Regions from separate parts of the Homo sapiens genome. Here all the other regions are linked to region 1. Evidence: promoter capture Hi-C in 16 types of primary human blood cells and fetal thymus (Javierre and others, 2016). All regions are on one chromosome and are shown on one strand. The core of a region is centred on a gene start or on the middle of the fragment in contact, and the rest is flanking DNA. Distances in the headings are between cores, read along the strand shown. Region 1 holds the start of EIF1B (eukaryotic translation initiation factor 1B). Region 2 overlaps LOC107986075 (a long non-coding RNA gene). Region 3 has its middle 43 kb from the start of CTNNB1. Region 4 has its middle 74 kb from the start of CTNNB1. Region 5 holds the start of LOC105377037 (a long non-coding RNA gene). Region 6 overlaps CTNNB1 (catenin beta 1). Region 7 has its middle 27 kb from the start of MOBP.

Region 1 (4,118 bases), core at 644-3,143:
GTTACACATAAAGCACCCAATCACTCACCTCCAAGAGAAACTGGCAGATGTTTTTTCTTTGGTCACCTTGAAGCTGAATAACCTCTCCGTATTCAGGATGTTCAATCACAGTACCATTACAGGCAAATTTCTGGAAAAGTGCATAAATATACAACAAAATTTAGTCAACTACTATGAGGTTTTATTTCACCGTATGAACAGAATTAGCCATTTCAGTAAGCTAGATCATATTTAGAGAAACAGATTTTGTCTCCTATAATCCACAATCCTTCCAAATTAATTTGTAAACCAGGAAATGATTTTATGTGTAACATCAAGAACTAAATATTTCACATTTAAATTTATTTAAAAGCAACGCGAATCTTCTTTTAAAATGAGAGACCACACTGGGAGAATAACTAAATATTTACATGTTAATTACAAAAATGAGAACAACTTTCTTGGTCTAGTTATTTTCATCCACGCCGATATAAAGGTGTGAATCATAATCCAGTTCAGAGGTGTGCATCAGTAACTCTAATCCTTTCTTCCTAATCCCTTTACCTTTTTGAAAGCTTTCACAAGTTTCTTTTTGTCATAATCATCTGCAATGCCCTGAACAGTAGTCAGTGTCTTTCTGCCGTTCCGTTGCTGGATTCTTATATGAATGTAATCCTCAGTCCCTGCCGGGAGTAAGTCGTCACCCTTAGTTGCATCAGCAAAGGGGTCTGCGAATGGATAAAAAAAAAAAAAAAATCCAAAGTAGAAAAATATTTTTTAAGAAGTACTTTCCAGAAATACATTATACTACCAATCCAGACAGTCATCAATGAAGGTTCTAGTGCCTTTGCTGTTTTTGCCGGTAGGAATGGAGATGGGGGTGGAGTATTAATAAAACCCCCAAGATACTCTCACAAAAAGAGAAACATTTGAACAGCTATGTCCATTGTAGAAAAACGCTGTTATAGATAAATAATGTTATCGTTCAATATGGTCCTCTAATGAGAAAAAGATTTAGAAAACCTTAATATTGTAGCCGCTATAAAAATGTGCGTCATCTCGATTACATTCTGATGAAAACATAAACATTCGAATACGCCCACCTTAATCATTTAACCGTAACTGTGCCTTGCCAAAAAAAAAGTAGATTACATATATATCAAGAGGCGTAATTTAACAAATTGCTACGCAAGCAGAGAAGACTGAACCACTGGCCAGTGACAGATCAGAGGCTTGCATCCGCATCTTTCCCTAAGTGCCCCCAGGAGCTGCCAGAGAACGGGCGCCGATCCCTGGTTTCCCTGGCCCGGCATACCCTTTGCAAGTAGCAGGGCCGATCTAGGAGTCCACGAAATAGGATCGCCAAGGTTTCAAGGGGCAGAAGCGGAGGCGAGAGCCGGGTCAAGGACGGGGCAGGGGGTGGCGCAGGGCCCGCGGCCGGGGCTCCGAGAGGAGGGCTCGGAGTCCGGCGCTGTCCTCGGGGAAGGGGTCGCCAGGGGCCCCGTCGCCATTTTCTGGGCGCCGAGACAAAGCCCCACTAGGGGTGCGGGAAGGGCAGAAAGGGGGCCCCTAGGGGCGGTGGCCAGGCGGGCAAAAGGCCGAGATGCGCGCCGGGCAAGGGAGGGAGGCGGCGGCGACGGGATCTTACCGAAAGATTGGAGGTTCTGGATAGTGGACATGCGATACTAGTGTGAGGCCGGTGAGGGGATAAAATTCCTGCGGGGCCCGCCCGGATCACCTTGTCAGGAGGCTGTAGTGGCGAGAAAACGGAAATAAATAAGAAAACGCTTCGCCCTGGGGTTGGGATTAGGCTGGAGTGGCGGCGGCGGAAGCCGGGAGGAGGCAGGAAGAGGCGAAGGAGGAGGCGGAGGAAGAGGCGAGGGCGCGAGAGAAGAGGCGGCGCTGCGGCTTCTCGCACAAAATGGCCGATGGAGACTATTTAGCCGCGCCCGCGGCCCCTCCCACGTGACCGTCCCGCGCCGAGCATCCTGGGACTTGTAGTTTTCTGGAGGCAGCAGAGCCCGGAAAGCCTGAGGCCGGGGGCGGCCGAGACCGCAATTCCCGTCACGGAGTGCGTCCTCTAGCGCGGGGCGGAAGACCCGCGAAGTGTTCAAGCGGCCGCAGAGCGGCCCAGAGTTCGCAGGTCTGGGGCTCTCTTCCCAGAGAGCTCGTAGGGGAGGACAGTCAAGGGACTCAAGCGTCTCTCTTGACTCCCCTTCTCTCGCTGTGCAGTGGCGGCGCCGAGGGGTCGACGCTCAGGGCTAATCTCTATGAGTCACCCTCGAGGCCCCGGGTAATGTAAGTAAAATCGGGGTGCAGGAACAAAACAAGTCCCCTTGCTCCGGCTTTCAACTCATTGGCCCCCGCTCAGCAACTACCTGCATTGAAATTCCAACCCCAGTTGCAGGAGCGGTGTTAGTCTCAACCAATACTGGAGATGGGAGCCTCTCTTTCCAGGATTGGACGGACCTCCGATTCCCTAGCACGGTGGATCTCAGACTAAAGCGTGTGTCTCTGGAGGGCTTGAGAAAACACTGATAGACCCCAGAGTTTCTGTTTCAGGAAGTCTAGGGTGTGACCTGAAAATCTGCAATTCTCATAAGCTCCTTGGTGATGCTGATCCTGCCTGCTGGTCTGGGATCAGGCTTGAGAATCACTGCCCAGCTTAATCCTGGGCCTGGCATCGAGTGGGGGCCAGGTGTGTATGAACAGAAGATACCAGAAAATCAGCTTGTCAGCTCATTTTGTGTGCCTCAGAAGGCCCAACAGAGAATTCAGGAAAGATGCCAGGTATAAGCTGAAGGTGAGCTCAGCAAATAGGTTAATTGATGGAGTCATGTACCAGACCGTAATATCTTCCTATCAGGTCACGCACAGAAAAATAAACCCGAGACTTTGGGAATTGGCTCACTCAGGCAGGTGTGTTCAATTGTCAAACTTGGTTGGCTTTCTGGAAGCAAAGAGATAGACTAAAATTTAGGGATTCTTAACTTTTTTGTGTGTGCCATGGCAATCCTGTGAAGCTGCTGAATCCCTTCTCAGAATAATGAGAAGTTAAGTTTTAAGTTCACAAAGTACATAGGATTACAAAGGAAACCAATTATATTGAAATTTAAAAAATACATTAATAACGTGTATTTCTTTATTAATACACTAATAAGATCTAGCAAGATTAGGTCTAATACTATAATTTCAAAAAGCTGATAAATGTAAGAGATATTTTGTGATGTCCGTAACATCAGAAATTTAATATGAAAGTATGTGTAACTTCTGTTGGTGCGAAGTGACAGGTCCTTCTATCACTATGATGTTGCCTTTATTCATAATGGAAAGAAATGGTAAATTTTGCTTAGAGGTTAATGAAAATGCAGATATAATCTTTCCCCATCCAATTTTAGGGATCTCCACCCCTGCAGTTTTATCCATGAGCCAAGGATCTGCAGACCGCAGGTTAAGAATACCTGGATTTGACAATCTTTTGTAATTAACAATGATGATAAGTGCCATTTATTTAGTACTTACTGTTTGCCTGTTACAAAGCTTATATATAACATTATTAATCTTCATAGCTATTTTATAAGGTAAGCATTACTCTATGCACCAGGTGTGGAAATGAAGGCTTTTGTAGGTTAATGCCTGAAAAAAAAATCAAATTCTTAACTCTCAGAAATCTAACCACATTTGTGGTCTTCCAGCTCTGGTTCAAATGGAAAACACTCTTCGTATCCCAAATTGAGGTGTAAAGTTTAGAGCTGGCTCCAAAACAAGGAGCATCAAAATATCTAAATAAGTGTGCTTTAAAGTAATTTTATTAGTTCAATTTTGTGCCCTATGTTAATACTCTAACACTCTAATTTCTAAATAATTTGTAATCTAGATAATGCATCTCTATTTGTTTCCTTTCTTTCTTAGTAGATGTACATGAGTATTTTATATTACTTTATTTCTCAGAAGAAGCCAAAGGTGATCCAGTGAAGAAAAAACTACAAACACAGAGAAATTAAAAGAAAAATTCCAGAAATCTTAGGGTTTCATGGTCATTACCCCTGTCAGGAGAACTCACTTTTCTTAGATTTAGTGTTTGCATCAGAAACCTTCAGGAGTGAGAAAAAAAAAAAAAAAGAAAGAAAAAAGAAACC
Region 2 (3,780 bases), core at 333-2,832, 890 kb after region 1:
TGGTTCTTCTCCATATGGGCCTCTCCCCAGCTGCTCAGGCTTCCTCACTGGAAGATGGCTGAGTTTCAAGAGCAAATGTCCCAAGGGACCCAGACAAAAGGGAATGGCATTTTTATGGCATATCTTTGAAAAACACATAGCATCATTTCCATTCTATCTTATTACTTGAGGAAGTTGGAACTTCTACCAAGGCTGAAAGGGAGGGGACATAGATTCCACCCATTGGATAGTGACAATGTCATGTTAAGATAAGCATGTAGAATGAGAGACATTTATGGTCTGAAGTTGATATTTTAAACTCTCTCATTAACAAAGACCTCAAAACACTTTATCTTTCACATAACCTCCATACCCGTTTTAAAATTTTTATCATTATTATTAGAGACAGGGTCTTGCTACATTGCCAAGGCTGATCTGGAACTCCTGGGCTCAGGAGATTCTCCTGCTTTGGCCTCCTGAAGTGTTGGAGTTACAGGCATGAGCCACCACACCCAGCCTATACTCTTTGTAAATATTTTGTTGATTGCTTTTATCTTGCTTGTTTTTTACCCCATATATTAGAAATCTTGTTACTGATTTACACAGTCTAATGTTTGCCACCAAGGAATATATCTCTAAAGAATATAGCTAGGCTGGGTGCAGTGGCTCACACCTGTAATCCCAACACTTTGGGAGGCCAAGGCAGGTGAATCACCTGAGGTAAAGAGTTTGAGACCAGCCTGGCCATCATGGTGAAACACCGTCTCTACTAAAGATACAAAAATCAGCCAGGCATGGTGGTGCACACCTGTAGTCCCAGCTATTTGGGAGGCTGAGGCAGAAGAACCGCTTGAACCTGGGAGGTGAAGGTTGCAGTAAGCTGAGATTGTACCACTGTACTCCAGCCTGGGCAATAAAGCAAAACTCCATCTCAAAAAAATAGATAGATAGATAGATATAGATATAGACATAGACATAGACATAGACATAGATATAGATATAGATATAGATATAGATATAGCTTACCTTTGCTTGTTTTTGAACTTTTCACAAATGGAATCACATATTAGGAATAATATTGTTACACTTATTTTGCCCAAATTTGTACGATTCATACATGTCATTGCATGTAGCCATGATATGTTTAATTTCATCACTGATTGGCACTTTGTGGTATAAATATACAATAGTTTATCAACAGTACTGTAGATGGACCCAGAGCTACTTCCAAGTTTGTCAATTAGAATTCTTGTCCACATACCCTAGTGCAAATGTGCATGATTTTCTTTAGTGTATACCTTCAAGGGCAATAATATAGATGCTTATGTTACTAAAGAATGCCAAACTGTACCAATTTATACTCCCACCACCTAGTATAGGAGTTCTTGTTCCAAATCCTTGTTACCATTATCTGATTTTGCCAGACTTTTTTCATTTTTTTTTTTTTGAGACGAAGTCTTGCTCTGTCGCCCAGGCTGGAGTGCAGTGGCGCAGTGTCAGCTCATTGCAACCTTCGCCTCCCAGGTTCAAGTGATTCTCCTGCCTTAGCCTCCCGAGTAGCTGGGATTACAGGTGCCTGCCACCACACTTGCGTTAATTTTGTTATGCTTATGTAGAGATGGGGTTTTGTCATGTTGGCCAGGCTGGGGCTTTTTTCTTGTTTATGGTAGGTTTGGAATGGAAAACAACTCCTTTAACCCTACCTTAATCTCACCTTAATGCATGCTACCTTTCCAAAGGGCAAGAGTGTTATCTCCTGTGGAGTCTGTCCCTTCAGATACGTAGCTCATAACTGCTTGAGGTGGGTAAATAGTGTTTGACTCTGTATATTGCGGACCAAGACAGAAAATGCCTGCATTAGCACAATTCTAGGTCCTTTCACTTCTGCTTGTAGGCTGGCCAGATCTAGCCAGAGTTCTTGTCTCTCATAGGACTATGCTTAAAGCAGCCAAGAGTCACACAGACCGTCACTCTGGATCTCTCCTACCATTTTCCTAATGCCACAGATTTGATCAAATTTTGGTCTACCCTCCAAAGCAATGCAGGCTCCAAAACCTGACCCAACATTTTACCACCATGTAATGTGAGGCACCAGCTTTTCAGCCTGTGCTCAGTGAAAACTCACAGGCTCTGTTAGTATGGAAGAAAGGAGGATGAACATGGGTGTTCAATAGATATGACTGAGAAATCCTCATAAACATTGGTGTTCATCCTGGCCGCAGCTTTCTTTTGCCTTCATTTTCTTTTTTCCTTACTAACTTTTGTTTTTTGGAAAAGTCATTATATTGTCCTAATTCTTCAATGACAGAGTCAGTTAGCCATTTGTTTTTCTCATTCTACTGTCCCCTAGCTGTCACCATTGATGGGGAACAGTCAGGTGTCCTTCCTTTTCTCCTTGGCTTCTTTCAAGAACACTTTTGGTTTTGGCATTTCAGGATTCTTTAACAATGTAAATAAGAATGGGGTTTTAAAAACCATTTCCACTTACTACACATTGGAATTCCTGAATTTGTAGATTCATGAGAATTTCGGATCATATCTATTTGTAGATTCATGAGAATTTCTTAGTCATATCTATTTGACACTGACTTCTTTATTCTCTCTTCTCTCTCTCTGGAACTCCAATTAGACAGTTTGACTCTCTAATTTTACTCTCTTTGTATCTCCTCTTTTGTATTTTTTTTCCTCCTCTCTCTGTTCTCCTTATGAATAATTGTTTTCATATATTTTTTCTAATTCATCAAACCTTTCTACAACAGTGTCTTATTATTTTTTCTGCTCATTGGGTTTTAAATTGCAATGATCATATTCTTTATTTCTAAATGGCAAAAGCACATTGTCAATAACTAGATATTGTCTTAAAAAGACAACTTACTTAAAAGAAATATATCTATATGAAATGATATACAGTAATACCAAAAAAATTTCCCTGTAAGGGATTTTGAAACAAATGTCAAACTAGCCCATTCATTTCTTCAGACTTGATGGCCTGTGCAGAGTCTTGTGTGCCACCATGATGGTCTAAGGGACTACTTTCTCATGCTAAAGACTGTACCTTTCTTTTGCACATCATAAATGGAAGACACCCCTTGGGTTGAGATAAGAGTATCGGATGGAAGAAAATGCAGAGCTGAGTCACTGAGGAGAGGTGGTGAGAGGGCCTTACCATGGGGACATGATGATGCACACTTCTGGCAATGTCGAGTGCTCTTTGCACCAATGTGAACCTAGCTAGCCAGCCATGGAGAGGGGAGAGTGCTTCTTGGACCATTGTCTCTCAGTGAGAGTGCAGCAGGAGGCAGAATTGGGGTAGATGTCTGTGCAATGATAGCTTTTTCCTTGTCCCCAACTCATTTCCAAAAATATCTATAGAAGAGAAAAGAGAAAACTTAGGTGAGTTTTCTATGGGTTGGGCAGTGGAGATGTGCACCACTCACATAGCATGGACTCCAAGAGACTTCATGGCCTCTGGTACAGGCCCCCAACTCCCTATGAGAACAGAACGTTTTGATGAGGCTCTACTTGGTGTGAGGCTGGACTGAGACCTCTTCTCTCTGGAGGGGTTTCTTTGCTGTCATTCTCTCCAGTGATTTTCTCCATTTGTCCTGTTTCTATAGGCTGATGCCTGTGATTCTTGCTTTAGACAAAAGCTTTCCTCATGTTTCCATCATCCTCACTTCTGTTTCCATAGTAAATAAATTGTTCACTTGTTATCTGCCTCTCCAGATAACTGCCACAAGGTCACAGGCTTTGTCTTCATTCACTGCTCTATCCCCATTGCTTGTAATAATACCTGGTCCA
Region 3 (3,853 bases), core at 64-2,563, 930 kb before region 1:
TTAGCTACAATCCACTGGCTCTCTTCAGGGATGAATGGGTCACTGAAGTCACAGAGGTGAGAGGCAAAGGAGGTGACAAGCAATAGGGCAGAGGCGGCTCAGGTGAGTGGCTGCACACAGGTCTATTCCTCTCCCTCCACTAACAGCAAGCCCAAAGTTCTAAGACCTTGCCTTAACTTACAGCCGAGTCTGCATCCCCATTAAGCTGTCCCTCCGTGAAGCACCATTTGGGGTAACTCTGGTCACAGGTGTCCTGAAAGGTGCTGACAATCACTCATGGCACCTAAGTAGGTGAGTCAGTGGAATGCAGCAACAGAATTTACTATCTTATGGTTCTTTGCAGTTTATCTTTTCAAGTTTCTCCTATGAGGTTCTCAGGTCGGTTCTGTGAACACAGGGCGGGCATCATCCCTGTGTTATAGTTGAGAAAATGGGGGCTCTGGTAGCTAAGGCTCTCGTACAAGGTGATGGGAGAGGAATCTCCCTCACCAGGTCTCACCTGTCTCCACCTGAAGCAAGATGCCCTTTCTCTTTCCCCTGGCAACAGAAAAATGCAATGTAGAATATAATCTTATACATACAGGGGCTACGGTAGCAAGTGGTAGGGAACGGGGGAAGAGGCTGCAAGAAAGCTACAAGAGGCTTGGCCTCTTGGGACAGCTGTCTGGAGTGGGGTTGGGCGAGACTAGGCAAAGCTAGGCAGCCTTGGCCTCAAGCTTCAGTGGGGTTGAGAAGTGGTGTGTGGGAGCAAGAAGCTGGGCCTAGAACGAGGAGTTTTAATCTGCCCTTAAAATCCAGCCTCTGGCCTCTCCCATCAGAGGCTTGATGTTGAGGCGGGTGGACAAATGCATCCATTAGGTGTTTTAATAAATAATTACATTTGAATGGTGATATCCAATCCAGAAGCCTGGTACAAATGAAGCCTGGTGAAAACACCCAAAAGATAGACAGCAGAGTTCCTCCCTCACACGCTGTTAGTCCTCTCCCTGTCTCCTCCTGCAAGGTGCCCATTGCCACTAGGGTCTTCGTGTGCATCCAGGGATGGTCTATGCCTATCTTCACAAAGATTCTGCACCCACCCCTTTTTACCCATATGTGAGCAGCTGTCAACTCTGCTCCTTGCTTTTTCTCTTACTATGTATTTTGAAGACCATTTTATTCCAAAACACAGCTTTATGGGCTGGTTTTTTTTCCCCCCTTTGACTGCAGAGTGGTCCACCAAATAGATGCATCAAAATTTGCTTAACTAGTTAGGTTCCCTTTTGACACCTATTTGGGTTGCTATCTTTGACAGTGTTGCAATGAATTCCTTGTACATACTCGTGAGTATACCTCAAATAATTCTGAGTAGAACTGCTTTGTCACAGAGTGGCTCTCAGTCGTACCTAACATGGAAATTACATTTATGGACACACGGACCTTTCCCTATTCATGCCAAAACCTACTTTGGAAATACATAGAGATGGGGTTTCTCCTTTGCCTTCCTGCATACCCCTATACCTGTTCTGACCTTCCCCCACAACCTCAACTCTGAAACTTGTCACTTCCTTCTACGTTTACTGGAGTCTCAAGTGGTGGAATGGATATTATACAGAATTCCACATAGGAGGCTGCGATAAAAGAAAAAGGAAGAACTGCCCTGACAGCCCCTGCAGCCCCATCATTTCATAATTTCACTTTGGTGGGTGATCTGCTCAAGGCAAGGAAAGGCAGGTTCTCACTTAATAGAACTGCAGATCAACTTAGCATTTTTGCTTTATAAACAAAACAGCACAATTCACATCTTTTTATTATAGCAACCAAGAGTTAAAGAGTGTGTTTATCTTAAGATCTTTCATTATTAAGGATTCAGATCATCAGATTTCAAAGCCTCATGTCTGTAAGATCTGCTCCAACATAGAAAAGCTTCCTTCTTTGGTTCAATGGTGGTTGCTGCAATGGGATCAAATGTCTTAACTCTCAAGGCTGTCTCATAACTACAGCACAACTGAAAAAAGAACACTCAGGCTGGAAAGCCCTCCTATTCTCAACGGCCATGTTCATTTTGTCATTTTCACCTCCTGTACCCGGAAATGCAAGTGGGCAGCATTCCTTTTAGGCCTTTTCCTCCCCACCACTACTTCTCTTATTGAAAACTTGACCTCACTTTCTTCACCACTATTTACAGGAAAGGTTAGGTACCTTGCCAGCATCCCATGCACCTCCCTCTCCAGGTTAACCATTATTCTGATTTCTATAGTCATCTAATCATCTCCTTGCTCCATCTGTGGATATTTTCCTTAAAATAGCTTGTCCCTTTTTTTAATTGATGATCAATGGAGTTCTAAAGCATGCATCTGTAACTTGCTTTTGTTCAGTGTTATGTGAGATAGATATATGCATACTATACTGACACCCACATCACTGAAGCTGTAGTTTTTCACTGCACTGTCTCGTGTGAACAGAGATTGTTGGACACATGGGCGTCCAGTGTAGACTGTCAGCGTTGTGCCCTACCAAGCCTTACTGGCGCTTGAGGCAAAAGAAAAATCAGTACTACTGCCTTTATTTAAAATCTTGATATTTTGTTGGGTCATGGATGTTTTTCTGTATTGTTTTATTCCAACGGCTGTTTCACACCTTTATGAAAAAGTTGCTCTCCTCCCACTCGGATCTCCAACGCTGTCTCTGAAGAGTCTTTAAATGCCTGTGTATTATTCTGTATTAATCTGTATTTATATCCCTATTCCTGTAACAGGGTTAACTAACTTTAGCTTTGTATTAAGTAGTTAGGCCTTGACAGCTGCTAGAGCAAGTGCTATTTTTCCTAAGCGTCTTGGCTATTATTCACCCTTGGTACTTCCAGAGCCACCTTGTTGAACTGGATTAACTCTCACATTAAGTTTTTAAACTTCAAAAATAAAATACAATGAATTAGCAAAGCTCTGAAAACATTCTCTGGTTTTAAAAAGTTGTTCTTTCTGTAATTGAAACACCGTGCGGTGGCTCTTTATGTTAAAAGCTGAATTCACTGAAGATCTTCACGGTGTTAACCTACCAATAGCCCTAGGCTTCTTGAAATACTGGCTGGTTTGGTTTATCACACATGAGACAGAACCTGAGACCTACCACATCATCAGCTATGTGAATGTTTCTTTTCAAACCCTAATTACATTTTAGACCACAATGAATTCATTTTTGCAAAGCAAGGGCATTCACAAAAAGGCCTCCCCAGATGAAGCTGATTTTTAACGAAAAAGAACTGAATGTATGTTTTTCTCATAATTAATAGTCACTATCAATCATCATCAAAATAAAAACAGTAAATCAGAAAGAGCTCTCCCTAAAGACAAAACACTTCTTTCTTTTACTTTTTAAAAGACCAAAACACAAGTCTTAACAAACAGGTCTACCTGAAGAGATGAGATGAACTAAGCTTGTCAGACCTACCACCGGGATGATAGGATCATCTGGCAGGTACTGTGGAAGGCTCATTCTGGTTCTGATTATGTTCAGATAAACATCAACACTTAAACCTATTTAATTTATTTAATTATTATTAGTTCAAAGTCCAGTTGAAGGAATTCCCCTCTCCCAATGAGTCACACTTGGGTGAAGGTGATTCAAATCCAAATCCAGGTAGGGGTAGTTACTATTTATTTCATTACTTTAATGGAATCAAATCATCTGAGGGGGATTGGGGTAGAGATAGATAGATGGATAGTCTGCTTGGCTTTCTCCCACCAAAGCCCAGAACTAATCACAATGTGCAAGGCTGAAACACTTTTTTAGGGGTCCAGCGTAATCCAGGGCCAAATGCTAAAGAAACTTGGCAAATTGCATCTAGAGAAGTAGGGCCCTCTCTATCGCTACA
Region 4 (3,576 bases), core at 308-2,807, 820 kb before region 1:
ATAGGAAATCTTGACTACGATAGTTCTTTGGACTATTTTGTTCCTAACTCATTCCCTTTATTCCTGCTTCTTCCTCCCAGTGCAGAACATACCATAAGTGACTCCTTAGTTCAAGTATTGGAACAGTCTGATATTTAATGAGTATTGTTTTCTTGCGATCTGTGTAGCTGTGTTGTGTGTTTCTCAGCTCAGTGGCCAGATGATAGCCAATTCCTGGAAAAAGCAGAGTCCTCATGCTGGGGGGTCAGAGCTGGGGAAGGGGCACAAGAGGCCATTTCCTTTGTGACCAGGGCAAGAAGGTACTTTGTGAGAATACGACAAGCTATCACTTTACGGAGTGTACCTATGTCACGAGGCAAGTAAAGACAGGATATTCCAGTCAGTGACCAGTGCTGAATCCTTACCAAGGAGACAGAACAGAATAAATATTGAGCTTGTCTCTCATAGCATCCAAGTGGGTGTTGGGCATGTACCTTGAAGCAATGACTGAGCCTGTCTTTTGTGGAAACAGATAAAGCATGCAATAGCCACCAATTCTATGACGACAGACACTCAACACCATTCAGAGATCTAAATCCCTCTCTGTACTGTGCTAACCTAGCTCCTTGAGCTTTGTCTTTGAGCTCTGCCATGAGGGCCCTAAGCACATGGGAATGGACTGTGAAGCCCTGAAGAATCAAATAAGGCAACTCTTGCTGGGGGCTTACCTGGAATTTTAGCTAGTAATCTCATCTCCTGGGAGTTTTGCCCATCCTGTTCCTAGCCTCTGGGAGGCCTCCAGCTCAAGCTCAAGGGATCCTATGGCTGGTGTCCCCTGTAGCCCTCACATACCCTCCTGTCTCACCCTTCTAGTCCTCTGGTCACTCATGTCCCCCTCCTGTCTTTCTCTCTCTGGCAGTCCTTTGGGATGTACTTCTGTGTGCTGACCTCAGCCCAGCCTGCTTAATTCCTCTGGGCTTCCTGCAGCCTAGGACAGCTTCTGCCCTGCAACTCGAGCCTCAGGAGATTGCTGGCCATCCCTCAGGGAGAAGGTGTAGACAAGATTTATGCAGGGAGATTATTCAGTCACTTCCTCCCACTACCCTTCCATTCTGCCTCCATTACCCCCAGAGACCCCTGATATTAAATATCTTTTTACTGAGGAGTTGCCCAGCTGGCCTTGCCCGTGTTTTGCTTCCTTATCAAGTGTGACCCCTTTGCATGGGTTGCCTTTCTTTTGGGGAGGAGTGGTCCAAATTCTCTCTTTCAGGAGGAGAGACTGCTCTGGGATTATTTTGGTTGTAGCTTTCCTTTTTTAAAAACAAGGATCTATGTCTTTGCATTTGTCTATTTGAGGCAAAAAGAGGGTAATTAGCATTAGTTTCTGAGCTTAGAACTATAGGAGATATAGGATATAGAGCTATAAGAGTCTTGCTACTATGTCAGTCATCCATTGCTGTGTAACAGACAATGCCAAAACTTTGTGGTTTAAAACATCAACCAATTATTTAGCGTGTGATGTTGTGAGTCAGCAATTTGGGCTGGGCTCAGCCAAGTGGTTCTTCTGGTCTTGTTTGGACTCACTCATGAGCCTGTGGTCAGTTAGCAAGCTCATTCATAAAATATCATTTCTTTCAAATGGTTGGCTGGCTGTTGGCTTGTCTTTGCATCATGTGACCTCTTATCTTCTAGCAGCTAGCCCAGGTTTTTGCACTAGGTGGGTGGATACGGTTCAAAGAGAATGAGCAGGCTCAAAACTGGTTCAGTATCACCTCTTCTGCCTGTTGGTCAAAGTGTGTACAAGTCCAACACAGATGCCAGGGGAAGGGATAGAGGGATCTGGAAAGGTACATTGCAAAGGGACATGGATTAGGAAAGGGTGGGGGAATTGTGCCCAGTTTTGCAAATGATCTACCTATCATGCTATCTCTGTACTGCCCTTTCTTTTTATAAAACATATGGTGATATTCAAGCAGCACTATTCTCTAAGTCCAGAATTTTCTCCATAGGCTCCCTTTCCACTTCTAAGCAATGGTCCTCATATTGCAAGGGGTGGGTGTTGGAGGAGCAAATTATATGAAAATTCCTGTACATCAGCACCACAGGGATCCCAAAGTGAACTAGCCTGTCCGTGGAGAGGCTTACAGCCTGGAAGGGACAGAAAGAAATGAAACAAACTTTCCAAAACAGTCCCCCAGGTGCTTTGATAATTAAGGTGAGGAAACAGTGCAGGCATTTTCCCCCCCATATTTTTTTACTTATTATTTTGAAATAATTTCAGATTTCCAAAAAAGTTGCTGAAGCCATACAGAGCTCTTGTGTGCTGTTCACTCAACTTCTCTTAATGTTAACATCTTGTATAATGATGGTACAAGGATAAAAACCAATAAATTAATGTTGATGTCACCCTATTAGCCAATCTACAGACTTTATTCATATTTTGCCAATTGTCCCACTAATGCTCTTTTTTCTGGTCCAGGATTCAATTCAGGATCCTGCATTACATTTAGTTGTTGTGTCTCCTTAGTCTCCTTTAATCTGGGAAATTTCCTCAGTCTTTCTTTGCCTTTTGTCACCATGGTGCTTTTGAAAAATGTTAGCCAGGCTGGGCGCAGTGGCTCACGCCTGTAATCCCAGCACTTCGGGAGGCCAGACAGAGTTCAAGACCAGCCTGGCCAACATGGTGACACCTCATCTCTACTAAAAATACAAAAATTAGCTGGATGTGGTGGTGCGGGCCTGTAGTCCCAGCTACTCACAAGGCTGAGACACAGGAATCACTTGAACCTGGGAGGCAGAGGCGGCAGTGAGCCAATATCGCACCACTGCACTCCAGCCTGGGTGACAGAGTGAGACCTCATCTCAAAAAAATAAAAATAAATAGATAAATAAAAAACGTTAGCCAGTCATTTTGTAGAATGTCTCTTAATGTGGGTTTGAAAGGTGTAATGTCAGCATGTTTTATTGTCGGTGATCTTAACTTTGATGGCTTGGTGGTGTCTGTCAGGTCTCCCCACTATAAAGTTACTATTGTTCCCTTTCTAATTAATAGGTATCTTGTGGGGAGATAGTTTAAGATTATGTAAATATCCTGTTCTCAGCATGCATCTGTCTGCTAATTTTAGCATTAGCTTCACATTATTGCCTACAACCCTTAGTGTGGTAATTGCCAAGTGGTGATTTTCTTTCTTTCTTTTTTGTTTTGGAGACAGGGTTTTGTTCTGTTGCCCAGGCTGGAGTGCAGTGGTACAGTCACAGCTCACTGCAGCCTCGACCACCTGGGCTCAGGTGATCCTCCCACCTCAGCCTCCTCAGTAACTGGGACCACAGGTGTGTGCCACCATGCCTGATTAATTAAAAAAATTTTTTCTTGTAGAGATGAGTGTCTCACCATGTTGACTGGCTGGTCTCAAACTCCGGGGCTCAAGTGATCCTCCTACTTCAGCCTCCCAAAGTGCTGGGATTACGGGAGTAAGCCCACTGCGCCCAGCTCAAATGGTGATTTTCTATTTCTATTATTCCTCGTACACCTATTAATTAGAATTCTGTAAGGAAGAGCTGTTCCTTCTCTGTTATTTATTGATTTATTAAATTATT
Region 5 (3,802 bases), core at 222-2,721, 930 kb after region 1:
GCCAGGCCAGCTTTTCTTTATCTTGGACAGAATGACTTCATTTATAAGCAGCATCTTGTGTAACAGTCAGTTTTATGTGTCAACTTGGCTAGGCTATAATACCCAGTTTTCAATTAAACACTAATCCAGGTGTTGCTGTGAAGGTATTTTGTAGATGTGGTTAACCTCTGTAATCAGTTGACTTTAAGTAAAGGAGATTATCTTTCATAATCTGGATGAAAGAAAATCAGGACACATATTTCCCTGACAAATACACCTTGTTTCCCTTCCTTAAAGGGTAGAGGCTATCTCCTGCTTTTTTCTGTGTGTCTTTGAGAGACCACTGAGGCAGAGTAATGCTGTAAAAAGAAAGTGGACTTTGGAATCAGGCATTGATTCTGTATTTGATCCTGGATTTGTCACCTGCTAGCTGTGTATTCACCTCAACTTTCTTGTTTGTTATTTTGAGATAAGTCTTGTGCTATTGCCCAGGCTGGAGTGCAATGGTGTAATCTCAGCTCACTGCAACCGCCGCCTCCCGGGCTCAAGTGATTCTCCTGCCTCAGCCTCCTGAGTAGCTGGGATTACAGGCGCACATCACCACGCCCAGCTAATTTTTGTTTTTTTAGTAGAGATGGAGTTTCACCATGTTGGCCAGGCTGGTCTCAAACTCCTTACCTCAGGTGATTGCCTGCCTCGGCCTCCCAAATTGCTGGGATTACAGATGTGAGCCACTGCGCCTGGCCAGTTTATGGGCCTTAATTAGAGGTCAAGAGTGAAGCCTCCCATATATAAAATTAAATACTTAGGGTAGATTCAGTGGCTCCGGCTTGTAATCCCAGCATTTTGGGAGGACGAGACAGCAGGATCTCTTGAGCCCAAGAGTTCAAGACCAGCCTGGGCAACATAACAAGACCTTGTCTCTACAAAAATAAAAACAGTAGCCAGGTGTGGTGGAATGAGCCTGTAGTCCCAGCTACTCGGAAGGTGGAGGCAGGACAGTCTCTTGAGCCCAGGAGTTCAAGGCTGCAGCAAACTATGACTGCACCACTGCACTCCAGCCTGGGTGACAGAGCAAGACCCTGTGTCTATGTTTTTTTAATTCCAAATACTTACCAAACATCTGCATTTTTACCAAAAATCTCAAAGCAGAATTTCTAATGACAGATTAGGTATGTAAATTAGAAGTCTTTCCCTCTGGCCCCTTTGTTTCTTAACACGCGTGGCACTCCATCATCTGCCATTCTTTCCCATCTGTTCTCTTTCACCCAGTCAGAAGCTCAGCTCAAACTGGCCACTAGAGGGAACACGTGTCCTGTTCCCAACAGGTTCTGGGTCCTGGCTTCAGGTGTCTGTAAATTACCTGATAGTCCCACTGGCATTGTCACTGAGCTACTGGCCTTGGGTGTACCAGGGTGAAGGCACTGGCCCTTGGTCCCAGACGCTGCCCCTTTCCAATTCCTCATGTATGCTTCATCTGTCTGGTCTATACAGGAGACCAGCTGTGGTGGGAAAGTATAAGGAGATGCCAGGAGTGGCTTCGGATAGAAGTGGAGAGAACACTGAACTAAAAGTCAGGAGTTTCTGATGCTAGTCCAATATCTGACAAAAACTCATTGTCACCTCTCTAGGCTTCAGCTTTCTCACGTGTAAGATGAGGGCCTTGAACTAAGTGGCTCCAAGTTCCTTTTCTGGGCTAATATCATATGAATCAGGGATCATGATCTCCAGACTCCCTTGGTCCTGACTTTCAGGCTAATGCAAGCCACAGAGGAGATATAGGAGATAGGCTGGGGCACAGATTGCACTGAGGAAAATGCATATGCATAAACAAAGTTTTGCCAACAGTTCTGTATTATTTAGAGCACCCCTGCAAGCCCAGTTAAACCCTACTGGTGTAGGGGGTTTCAACATACCAGGGACAGCTTTAGCAATCTTAGTAAGGTCTGCTTCTTTAAGGAATTGCACAGAGCACCAACAACCTGGAAGTCTTGTCCATGACCCATCCACAGTCTTCTCCATGAACTCATTGTAGAGCCTCACCATGATGGGGCTCCAGCTGGCACTGGGGAGGGAGTAATCCTTTGTATCAGACTGGAGGTGGCTACTGCTTGAGACCTGAAAAGTCCAAAAGGGGTGGTGGACTGTCCCCAGTACCTTCCGATTTGACTCATTCATTCAAGCATTTACTAATAGATGAGTCTGTTTTCATCTTGCAGAGCATGTACAAATACCCAGAGGTAAGAGAGAGCATGTCAGATTCCTAGAACTGTAAATGTGGAAACGTCTAGTAGGAGGGAAGGAATGGAAGGGAGGAGGCCAGAGGGAGAGCCTGGGGCCCTCCATCAACCATGTAGGAGAATGTAGGCTTTATGCTGAAGAGGTTTAAGCAGGAGAATGAAAGGGTCAGATTTGCATGTTAGAAGGATTTCCGTACACGGGAAGTTACAAACTGGTCAAGTCTCACTCACACTGGAGAGCCTTGCTGATATGCAATTCAAAGACACATTCTTTCCCCTGCCTGTTTCCTTTCAGCTTCCAGCTCCTCTGTGCCTCCCTCTCCTGCTCCCCAGTTCCTTCAGGTTCTGCTTCTAAGACGGTTCACCTTGTTTGACTATGTAGTTTATTTTATCTCCTTACTGTCCTATTACAATCAGAAGGCTCAGCCATCATCCTGGCTAACACAGTGAAACCCCATCCCTACTAAAAATACAAAAAATTAGCCGGGCATGGTGGTGGTTGCCTGTAGTCCCAGCTACTCGGGAGGCTGAGGCAGCAGAATGGTGTGAACCCGGGAGGTGGAGGTTGCAGTGAGCCGAGATCGCGCCACTGCACTTCAGCCTGGGCGACAGAGTGAGACTCCATCTCAAAAAAAAAAAAAAAAAAAAGGCGGCTCAACCAGAGACTCCCTTTTCTGGGAGACAGAGTAGATGATTGAGTCCAGATAGCTAGTCCTCCCCACTGGGAATTTTGGATAATCCATCACATGACAACACCTTCTTTTATCTTCTACCTGGTTATTGTTTGAATTCACTGGTGCCAATCCGTCCTTCCTGTTCTTGGTACAGTTTCTACTTTTTCTGGTGCAGTTTCTACTTTTTCTGGTGCAGTTTCTACTTTTTCTGGTGCATTAATCTGGCTTACTCACAATTCCCTCTATATGCTCTTCTCTACCTAAACAGATGGAGAGAAACATAGCTTCTTAAATTACTTATAAATAGACAAGTTCTTAAAGGCGAGGGGTCAGGTGTGAAGGAATGATCAACAATTGTTACTGCCATTCTGCAGGAAGCTCTTCTTTTGTGAGCTAGTGGATGGTAGTGGCATTTGAATTCAATCTCGGAAACTTTTTCCCATTAATATGCCACACTTACTGCTGCTTGTCACTTAACTGCTCTGAGCATCAATGTTCAAATGTGTAAAAATGAGAATAACACCACCCTCCCTGCAAATTGCTGTGCAAACTGCATGAGGTAGTGATAATGTGAATGGACCTGGCTCAGTACCTGCCAGAGCAAGCATTCCAAGATGCTAGTTTCATCTGAATTCAACAGGAAAAAAATCTCTCCTTCTCCAGTTTGAGCCCAAAGAATTTTTTAAGCAATGATTATATTAACGAAGCCTGGACTGAAATCTTTTTTGGGATGAGGTTACTCATGAAAATATGAAAGGGATGACATCCAGTTGATGCTACTTCTTAGCACTTAAATTGCACACAATTCACTTTTAATTCTGCCTATTTTTTTTCTTTTTTTTTGAGATGGAGTCTCACTCTTGTTCTCCAGGCTGGAGTGCAGTGGCATGATCTCAGCTCACTGCAACC
Region 6 (3,596 bases), core at 802-3,301, 910 kb before region 1:
TAAAATTTTTCTAAGTTCAAATTTACAGCAATGATTTATTATAAATACAAATATTACCAATATGGATACATATTTTGATCAATATTTTAAAAATTTATATAAATCTTATCATCTAATTTGTCCGTATTTTGCCTTTATTGTGCAATATTGAAAAAAACTGCATCACACAGGGAACTACTTGCAAATTAGAACAGTTTAAGGGCTCATGGCCTCTAGATATTTCTAATAACACGATTTCCTTTATTACAAAATCTGTCCCAAACAAGTTCATCTTGAACTATAAATTAACATATTGGGTATGTAAAGATATGGAATAAAATATTTAAGTGTGAACTATGTTTTGTTTTTTTTTGAGACAGAGTTTTGGTCTCTTGCCAAACCAGGCTGGAGTGCAGAGGTGCATACTGGGCTCACTGCAACCTCCGCCTCCCAGGTTCAAGTGATTTTCCTATCTCAGATGTGAGCCAACACCTGGCCTTAGTTTCTATCTTTTGACTGTCTTTAAAAGAGTGGCTATGTAACTACTTCACCACCTTTCTGAAAAATTGGTTCCCCACTCCAGCCTCCAATGTATTTCTGCAAAAGGAGACTCCAAACATGTTCTACACTGAGCTTCTCCTTTGGCCAATGTCAACAGACTCAGAAACCAACTGGTCATGTCTATAGGCTATATAGCTATTTCAGAAGTGCTTTGATACATCCGGCTTCCAGGAACATTTTTTTATAGTACTGTTTTTCCTTGTTGTTGATGCAAAGGCAAAACATTTACGCATATTACTGGGTAAACTCTGTGTGGGCTGACCTAGTAACTTGACCGCAATTTATAATGATTTCATTTTTACAATGGAAAAAAGCAAGTTCATGTTCCAAATTTACAATAGCCATTTGTACACTGGGACTTCCCAACATTACATATATATTTTTTAGCTTTTAAAATTTATGCAACATAAATAAAAATTCATCTTGCTCTTCACTGCAACCCTATGAGGTGAAGGAGGGTAAAAACCTATCAGTAGATAGAGAAGTAAAAACAAAGGGTAGAAATGGGGATCTAATTAGGTAACAGCATAGACTCACTCACCTTGTACCTGCTCTGGAGGCAGATCCACATATGCCAAAAAACTGAGCATTAACTGCTAAAGAAATCAAATAGACTGCCAAGCAAGACCTAGGGCAGAACCCTGCTCCGGAAAGGAAAAGGAAAGCCTTCCTCTTTCTTTTTCTGGCCTGAGCCTTTGGACTAAGGGCTGTCTCTCCTCCACCACACCCTGCCAACCATTAAGGGCCCAATTCTAGTGCTCCCAATTAGCCAAAACTTACCAATCACTTCAGGAAAATTTTTTTTTAAAGCAACGAAAAAACTGACTCCATAGAAACTGAGATAAAACTTGAAACTAGGGATAGGGTGGAGAGAGAAACAGAACACTTCAATTTAGTATCTCCATAAATACTGGAGAGAATAAATAAAAACAAAAAGTTGAATAGAAACTAAAATTGAGAAAACTGCCTAGAGTACAAAAAAATGACAAAGACAAAAAATACAACAGAAGAAATCACGATCAATTCAGGAGATCAAAGGTCCAACCAGTAGACATTTCAGAAAGAATTATGAAGAAACAAAAATGATAAAATCCACTAAGTACCAATCAAGAGGGAGGAGTGCTTAAAAATTATGAAGTACAATCATGCACTGCATAAGGACATTTCAGTCAAGATGGACTACATATGCTACAGTGGCCCCACAAGATTTTAATTCTGTATTTTTACTGGATCTTTTCTATGTTTAGGTAAACAAGCCAGGCGAAGTGGCTTGTAATTCTAACACTTTGGGAGGCGGGTGGATTGCTGCAGCACAAGAGTTCCAAGACCAGCCTGGACAACACAGCGAAATTCCATCTCTACAAAAAAATGTTAAAAATTAGCCAGGTGTGGTAGTATGTGCCTGTAGTCCTAGCCACTGGGGAGGCTGAGGCAAAGAGGATCACTTAGGAGTTCAAGGTTATAGTGAGCTATGATCACACCAATGCATCCAGCCTGGGCAACAGAGCAAGACCCTGTCTCTTAAAAGAATTTAAAAAAAAAAAAAAGGATACATAAATACCACTGTTTCAACTGCCTATAGTAACACGCTATACAGCTTTACACCCTAGAAGCAACAGGCTATACTATATAGGCTAGGCATGCAGTACACTATGCCATCTAGGTTTGTATAAGTACTACGCTAAATGTTTCAAGACACAGATTATCATTAAACTACAGACTACATTAGAATGCTGTGTTTTCCAACAGCTTTATCACCACCAAGTGATGTTTTGACAAAGAGGGGGCTAGCCAACTTCTCATGTATTTTCCATCCAGTCTAATGCATCCATGCATCTTTTTTTTGGCAATATGAACATAATACTCTTTCCAACTACAAGGATACTTCAAAATTCACCGTGCTATTTCCGATTTTAACCCTATAAATGTCTCCAGTCAAAGTCAATGGGAGAAATCTTGCCACAACTAATATATAATAGATTTCACACTGAAGTTATTTTTCCTCTTCCCATCAGGACAGAATTATCTTAATTACCTTAGTTTTCAGTAAGTTTGAGTATTATTAACTAGGAGTAAATCTGCTACATAAAAATATAAAGCAGACATATTTTAAAACCACAGTTTTATACTAGCAATTCATAATTCACTTTTCCAATAATCAAGATCCAAAGAATTATTCCCCGTTTTAAAGTTAGAAAGTGCTACTCTATTTCATAAGCATGATAAACTTTTGATACACCTTCAGGGATTTTTAAAAAGTTCTTAGTAAAATTTGTAAATCTAAAAACACATGCATATGCATTTTCATTAACTGTCACCAGTAATACTTTGCCATCTAGAAAATGTATGCAATTTCCTCAAATCTTCCTGTTTTAACACACTTCATGCAACACTAACATTTTAAGTTACAACTCACTCCAGGTTCTTTTCTGCTTTCTTCCTTCACAGCTTTCTTCGGGGAGGGGGGTGGGGTGGGTGGGTGAGGGTGTGGGTGTGGGTGTGGGTGTGTGTGTTCTCAAGGTGTCTTGTCATCCTCGAATAGTCAATAAGCATCAAACATCAAATGACCCTTGGTCCTCCAAACACTAAAATGTATGCCTTTGGTACTGTCTTTAAATAGGTACACAAATGGTTATTAGAAGTATGAAATCTTCTCAGGTAGGAAACAGAAGGTAAATGGAAAAAAAAAAGAAATAGGAAATCTCTTTATGGCTGGGAAAAATTAGTATGTTTCCAGAATGAGCTGTTCTTCATAACTGTCTTCCTTCCTCAGCCATAAATATATGCCTCAAATAAATTAATATTTTTATTTATCATCTCCATCATATGAGTCCACCACACAGTAAATGATGACATTTTGGTATGTTTGGTATATTAAACTCACTGCTATGTATTTTTAAAAATAAAAATATAAAATTCCTTGTGAAGACTATTATAAAATATTATCATCTGGATTGTATCGTATGTCTATACTATAAGCTACCTCCTCCATTCTGAGCTTGTTCTTCCCCATTTTGTCTATTATTCCAACAATGCTGCAATAAACACCTTTGCAT
Region 7 (3,999 bases), core at 270-2,769, 870 kb after region 1:
AGGTACCCACCAACACGCCCGGCTTTTTTTTTTTTTTAGTAGAAACAGGATTTCACCTTATTGGACAGGCTGGTCTCGAACTTCTGACCTCAAGTGATCTGCCCGCCTCGACCTCCAAAGTGTTGGGTTTATAGGCCTGAGCCACCGCACCTGGCCTATGTTTTCTAAAAGAGAGATTATGAATGGAATCATTAACAAACATGATACTTTTATTAAAGGAAAATCATTCAGAGACTAAATCAATAAGAAATTGAATGTTATCCAGTCTTTCCATTTTAGTTTATTATTAGTTGTGAGAAATATTCTATTTTTAATAATAACATGGACAGATTATGCACATAGCATATAATAGATTGTATAAATGTGTAACAGTCTCTTTGATTACTAAAGGAAAAAAAATGTTATGCTTGAACATTTGGAGATTTCAAATATATTCATGCCCAATTCCAGTGATACATAGTAGAGCAAAGTCATTATAGGTGAAGCTAAAGACTTGGTCTCATGGAACCAGAGATTGGAAAAACTAAACAGTGAAAGGGAGGGCTAGCATCCAGGCATGCAAATAAGGAGCTTGTCACATCTATCAGCATCTGCAGCATCTTTGTTAATCACACAGAGTATAACTTTGCATTCTAATTACCAATCCCACTAACCTTTGTACAGATTTGAGCACTGCAGGTCCCAATCATGCTTAGGGCTGTGAGTTGTATCAGAACTTGTCCCATCATCTGTCAGCTGCTGTTGAAGGCACAGCTAGGGATAAATGAACCAGGCTGCATCAGTGTGATCCATGCCTGGAAGTGCAATGCAAAGAAGGCTTTGCCCTTCTTTTCAGAGGTGCAGGCACCAGCCTCCATCCTGTCACCATGCAGCTGAGTGACCCTGGGAGGCAGCCTTACTTCTTTGTCCATTCCCACATTGGGTTTCATCAGACCATTTGGGGAACTCTGAAGCCTGGTTACCCACGGACTATTTGGCAGAAAATAAAACTTGGAGATCATGTAACCAAATCCCTTATTTTGCAAATACAGTGAAACTCTCAGAGGCCTACTGGTTTCATAGCTAGGCATTCAATTCCTGCTTCCATTTTTCAAAGCTAGGCATTCAATTCCTGCTTCCATTTTTTCCCTGCAAAATACATTGCAAATTATAATGTCTTTTTAATAAATATTTTATGGTATTTAAGGTTTTTTTCTTGACTTGTTTAGTGTCTTGATTTCCTTTCACTTCAAACCAGTCAGGATTTGTGAAATAGAACAGAAGGCTTCTGTAATATTTGTTTTTCTAGAAGTTTGAAGATAGAAAATGCTTTAAGTAGTCAGTGCTTTAGATCTGTTCCTCTGGCTTGTGGCTTTAAAGAATTCAGATGTTGCATTTCTTTACTCTTTGTTTAACAAGTCTAACTTATTGATTATACTATCAGTATTTTCAGTTCAGCCAGATCTTGTTTTCTAGGAATATTTGAAAAAACTGTGGCTGCAAAGGGCTCTTTAGCTATAGAAAACATAATGTTTTAGCATGTATTAGTGCTTCCTTAGGCAGTCATTCAAATTATTTTGCATGCTCTGAGAATACATTAACTTGAAAATAGAGAAAGAGTTCCAGATGTTGAGTCTACAGAGTTACGCCAGGAGCAACCTAGGATTTAAATTTTTTCCACACATATTACATAGAATAAAGAATATGAGCATAATAACTGAGAGCTGGCAACACAACAATGTAAACAACTGCAATTATGATTTTTTCAAGAATATCTTTAGGACTGGGTGCAGTGGCTCACGCTTGTAATCCCAACACTTTGGGAGGCCGAGGCGAGTGGATCACCTAAGGTCAGAAGTTTGAGACCAGCCTGGCTAACATGGCGAAAACCCATCTGTACTAAAAATACAAAAATTACCCAGGCGTGGTGACACATACCTATAATCCCAGCTACTCGGGTGGCTGAGGCAGGAAAATCGCTTGAACCCGGGAGGCAGAGGTTGCAGTGAGCCGAGATTGCACCACTGCACTCCAGCGTGGGGAACAGAGTGAAACCCTGCCTCAAAAAAAAAAAAAAAAAAAAAAAAAAACAATCTTTAAAGCAAATACCTATTATATATTTTTCTTTTTATTAGAGTTATCAGCAGGTGGTATTTCATTTTTGTTGAAACTTTAAAAAAAACAGAAAAAAAAAAAAGACAAGGTCTCCGCCGGGCGCAGTGGTTCACGCCTGTAATCCCAGTACTTTGGGAAGCCGAGGTGGGTGGATCACGAGGTCAGGAGTTCCAGACCAGCCTGACCAACATGGTGAAACCCTGTCTCTACTAAAAATACAAAAAATTAGCTGGGCATGGTCGTGGGCGCCTGTAATCCCAGCTACTCGGGAGGCTGAGGCAGAGAATTACTTGAACCCAGGAGGCGGAGGTTGCAGTGAGCCAAGGTTGCACCACAGCACTCCAGTCTGGGCGACAGAGCAAGACGCCGTCTCAAAAAAAAAAAAAAGACAAGTTCTCACTCTCCCACTCAGGCTGGAGTGCAGTAGTGCAGTCATAGCTCACAGCAACCTCAAACTCCTGGGCTCCAGCGATCCTCCCGCCTCAGCCTCCCAAGTAGCTGGGACTACAGGTATGCACCACCACACTGCCTAATTTTTAAGTTTTTGTAGAGACCGGGTTTCCCTGTGTTGCCCAAGCTGGCCTCAAACTCCCAGGCTCAAGCAATCTTCCTACCTCAGCCTCCCAAAGTGTTGAGATTATAGACATGAGCCACTGCACTGGACAATGTTTTGTTTTGTTTTGTTTTTGAGACAGTCTCACTCTGTCGCCCAGGCTGGAGTACGATGGCGCAATCTCAGCTCACTGCAATCTCTGCCTCCTGGGCTCAAGTGATTCTCCTGCCTCAGCCTCCCGAGTAGCTGGGACTACAGGCAGCTGCCACCACGCCCGGCTAACTTTTGTATTTTTAGTAGAGACGGGGTTTCACCATGTTGGCCAGGCTGGTCTCGAACTCCTGCCCTCAAATGATCTACCCACCTCAGCCTCCCAAAGTGCTGGGATTACAGGCGTAAGCCACTGCACCTGGCCTGGACAATGTATTTTTTAATAATAAAACAAAAATATGTTATTCTTCCCACTCTCCAAAGAAAACTGTCCAAGCTGCCATATGCAAAAATGGAACAAAAAGCTGCAGAGAAAAGAGGAGAGTGTCTGTGAAGTCCTAGAAGGGAGAGTGATCAGGGACCCTCAAGGTGAGCTGCATGCCTAGAGGGTAGAATTTTAATAGGAAGAAAATGGAATGAATCTGGAGAGGGAAGCAGGAGAAAATGATGACATTGTCTGCTGGTTTCACAGAGGGTTTAGTCCCAAAGCTGAGCAAAGGTGATTTATTATCTGAAATTACTTAATTCTGGCCATTATTGCCCTAGTAATTAGCAAAAAGTTTGGCTCATTATGGGTTCCCAGTTGCATAGATTTGGGGTAAATGAATGATTGAATCAATAACTATTACATTATTATATAATCCATAAGCTGTAGGCCTTACAGTTTTTTCAATCACAACATTAAGCATCCTCTCGTTACAATGATTATCTTCTGGAGCCCACATTAGATTAGCATGGATGATGAGAAACATGCACAGTTCAAGGACTCATAAAAAACAGCACTGACCTGATGTGACTGAGAAGAGCTCCCCGAGTGTGTGGGCCATCTGAGCAGGCTTGGAGGCCGGTGTAGTCAGAGGTTTTTCAGACCTCGACAACCTTTGCTCTACCCTGCAGCCTGACCCCCATATGAAATTTTTTAGAGACCTTGTCCCATCACCTGTCAGCTGCTGTTGAAGGCACAGCTAGGGAGAAATGAACCAGGCTGCATTAGTGTGATCCATGCCTGGAAGTGCAATGCACAGAAGGCTTTGCCCTTCTTTTCAGAGGTGCAGGTACCAGTCTTCATCCTGCCTCCATGCAGCTGACTGACCCTGGGAGGCAGCCTTACTTTCTTCGCTGGTTCCCACATGAAGTTTTAT

Evidence for each region. The method cuts DNA at HindIII sites, captures the fragments that hold promoters and counts their contacts. A CHiCAGO score of 5 or more calls a contact.
Region 2: a fragment that was not itself captured here is called in contact with the fragment with the promoter of EIF1B in region 1 in 2 of 17 cell types (erythroblasts and naive CD4 T cells); the score reaches 10.3 in erythroblasts.
Region 3: a fragment that was not itself captured here is called in contact with the fragment with the promoter of EIF1B in region 1 in 4 of 17 cell types (monocytes, naive CD8 T cells, total B cells and 1 more); the score reaches 7.3 in monocytes.
Region 4: a contact is called between a fragment that was not itself captured here and the fragment with the promoter of EIF1B in region 1, in 1 of 17 cell types (monocytes). The highest score is 6.6, in monocytes.
Region 5: a fragment that was not itself captured here is called in contact with the fragment with the promoter of EIF1B in region 1 in 4 of 17 cell types (non-activated CD4 T cells, naive CD4 T cells, naive CD8 T cells and 1 more); the score reaches 8.3 in non-activated CD4 T cells.
Region 6: a contact is called between a fragment that was not itself captured here and the fragment with the promoter of EIF1B in region 1, in 8 of 17 cell types (neutrophils, total CD4 T cells, naive CD8 T cells and 5 more). The highest score is 9.4, in neutrophils.
Region 7: a fragment that was not itself captured here is called in contact with the fragment with the promoter of EIF1B in region 1 in 2 of 17 cell types (erythroblasts and total CD8 T cells); the score reaches 6.8 in erythroblasts.

What each region holds. Positions count from the first base shown.
Region 1 is chr3:40,307,482-40,311,599 of GRCh38, reverse strand. It overlaps EIF1B (eukaryotic translation initiation factor 1B), which reads right to left and starts at 1,893. Exons shown (of 4, transcript NM_005875.3): 1 at 1,628-1,893; 2 at 544-707; 3 at 29-130. The coding sequence starts at 1,658. It overlaps EIF1B-AS1 (EIF1B antisense RNA 1), which reads left to right and starts at 1,902. Exons shown (of 3, transcript NR_033965.1): 1 at 1,902-2,277. It overlaps LOC124906228 (a long non-coding RNA gene), which reads left to right and starts at 2,789. Exons shown (of 2, transcript XR_007095876.1): 1 at 2,789-4,118. RefSeq lists a silencer at 1,483-1,532 and an enhancer at 1,803-2,162. The HindIII fragment of the contact is 2,965 bases long and covers 557-3,521 here.
Region 2 is chr3:39,420,080-39,423,859 of GRCh38, reverse strand. It overlaps LOC107986075 (a long non-coding RNA gene), which reads right to left. Exons shown (of 2, transcript XR_001740663.2): 1 at 3,146-3,780; 2 at 1-58. Among named protein-coding and RNA genes, the nearest start is that of SNORA62, 11 kb to the right of the region's middle. The HindIII fragment of the contact is 4,098 bases long and covers 1-3,631 here.
Region 3 is chr3:41,240,574-41,244,426 of GRCh38, reverse strand. No RefSeq gene overlaps it. Among named protein-coding and RNA genes, the nearest start is that of CTNNB1, 43 kb to the right of the region's middle. The HindIII fragment of the contact is 1,189 bases long and covers 719-1,907 here.
Region 4 is chr3:41,123,494-41,127,069 of GRCh38, reverse strand. No RefSeq gene overlaps it. Among named protein-coding and RNA genes, the nearest start is that of CTNNB1, 74 kb to the left of the region's middle. The HindIII fragment of the contact is 4,712 bases long and covers 1-3,576 here.
Region 5 is chr3:39,375,771-39,379,572 of GRCh38, reverse strand. It overlaps LOC105377037 (a long non-coding RNA gene), which reads right to left and starts at 3,061. Exons shown (of 3, transcript XR_001740661.3): 1 at 2,993-3,061; 2 at 1,896-2,097. LOC105377644 (a long non-coding RNA gene) reads left to right here. Exons shown (of 3, transcript XR_007096252.1): 3 at 1-142. RefSeq lists a silencer at 1,322-1,371. The HindIII fragment of the contact is 8,755 bases long and covers 1-3,802 here.
Region 6 is chr3:41,219,831-41,223,426 of GRCh38, reverse strand. All of the region lies in intron 1 of CTNNB1 (catenin beta 1), which reads right to left. Among named protein-coding and RNA genes, the nearest start is that of CTNNB1, 22 kb to the right of the region's middle. The HindIII fragment of the contact is 8,015 bases long and covers 1-3,596 here.
Region 7 is chr3:39,439,168-39,443,166 of GRCh38, reverse strand. No RefSeq gene overlaps it. Among named protein-coding and RNA genes, the nearest start is that of MOBP, 27 kb to the left of the region's middle. The HindIII fragment of the contact is 6,817 bases long and covers 1-3,999 here.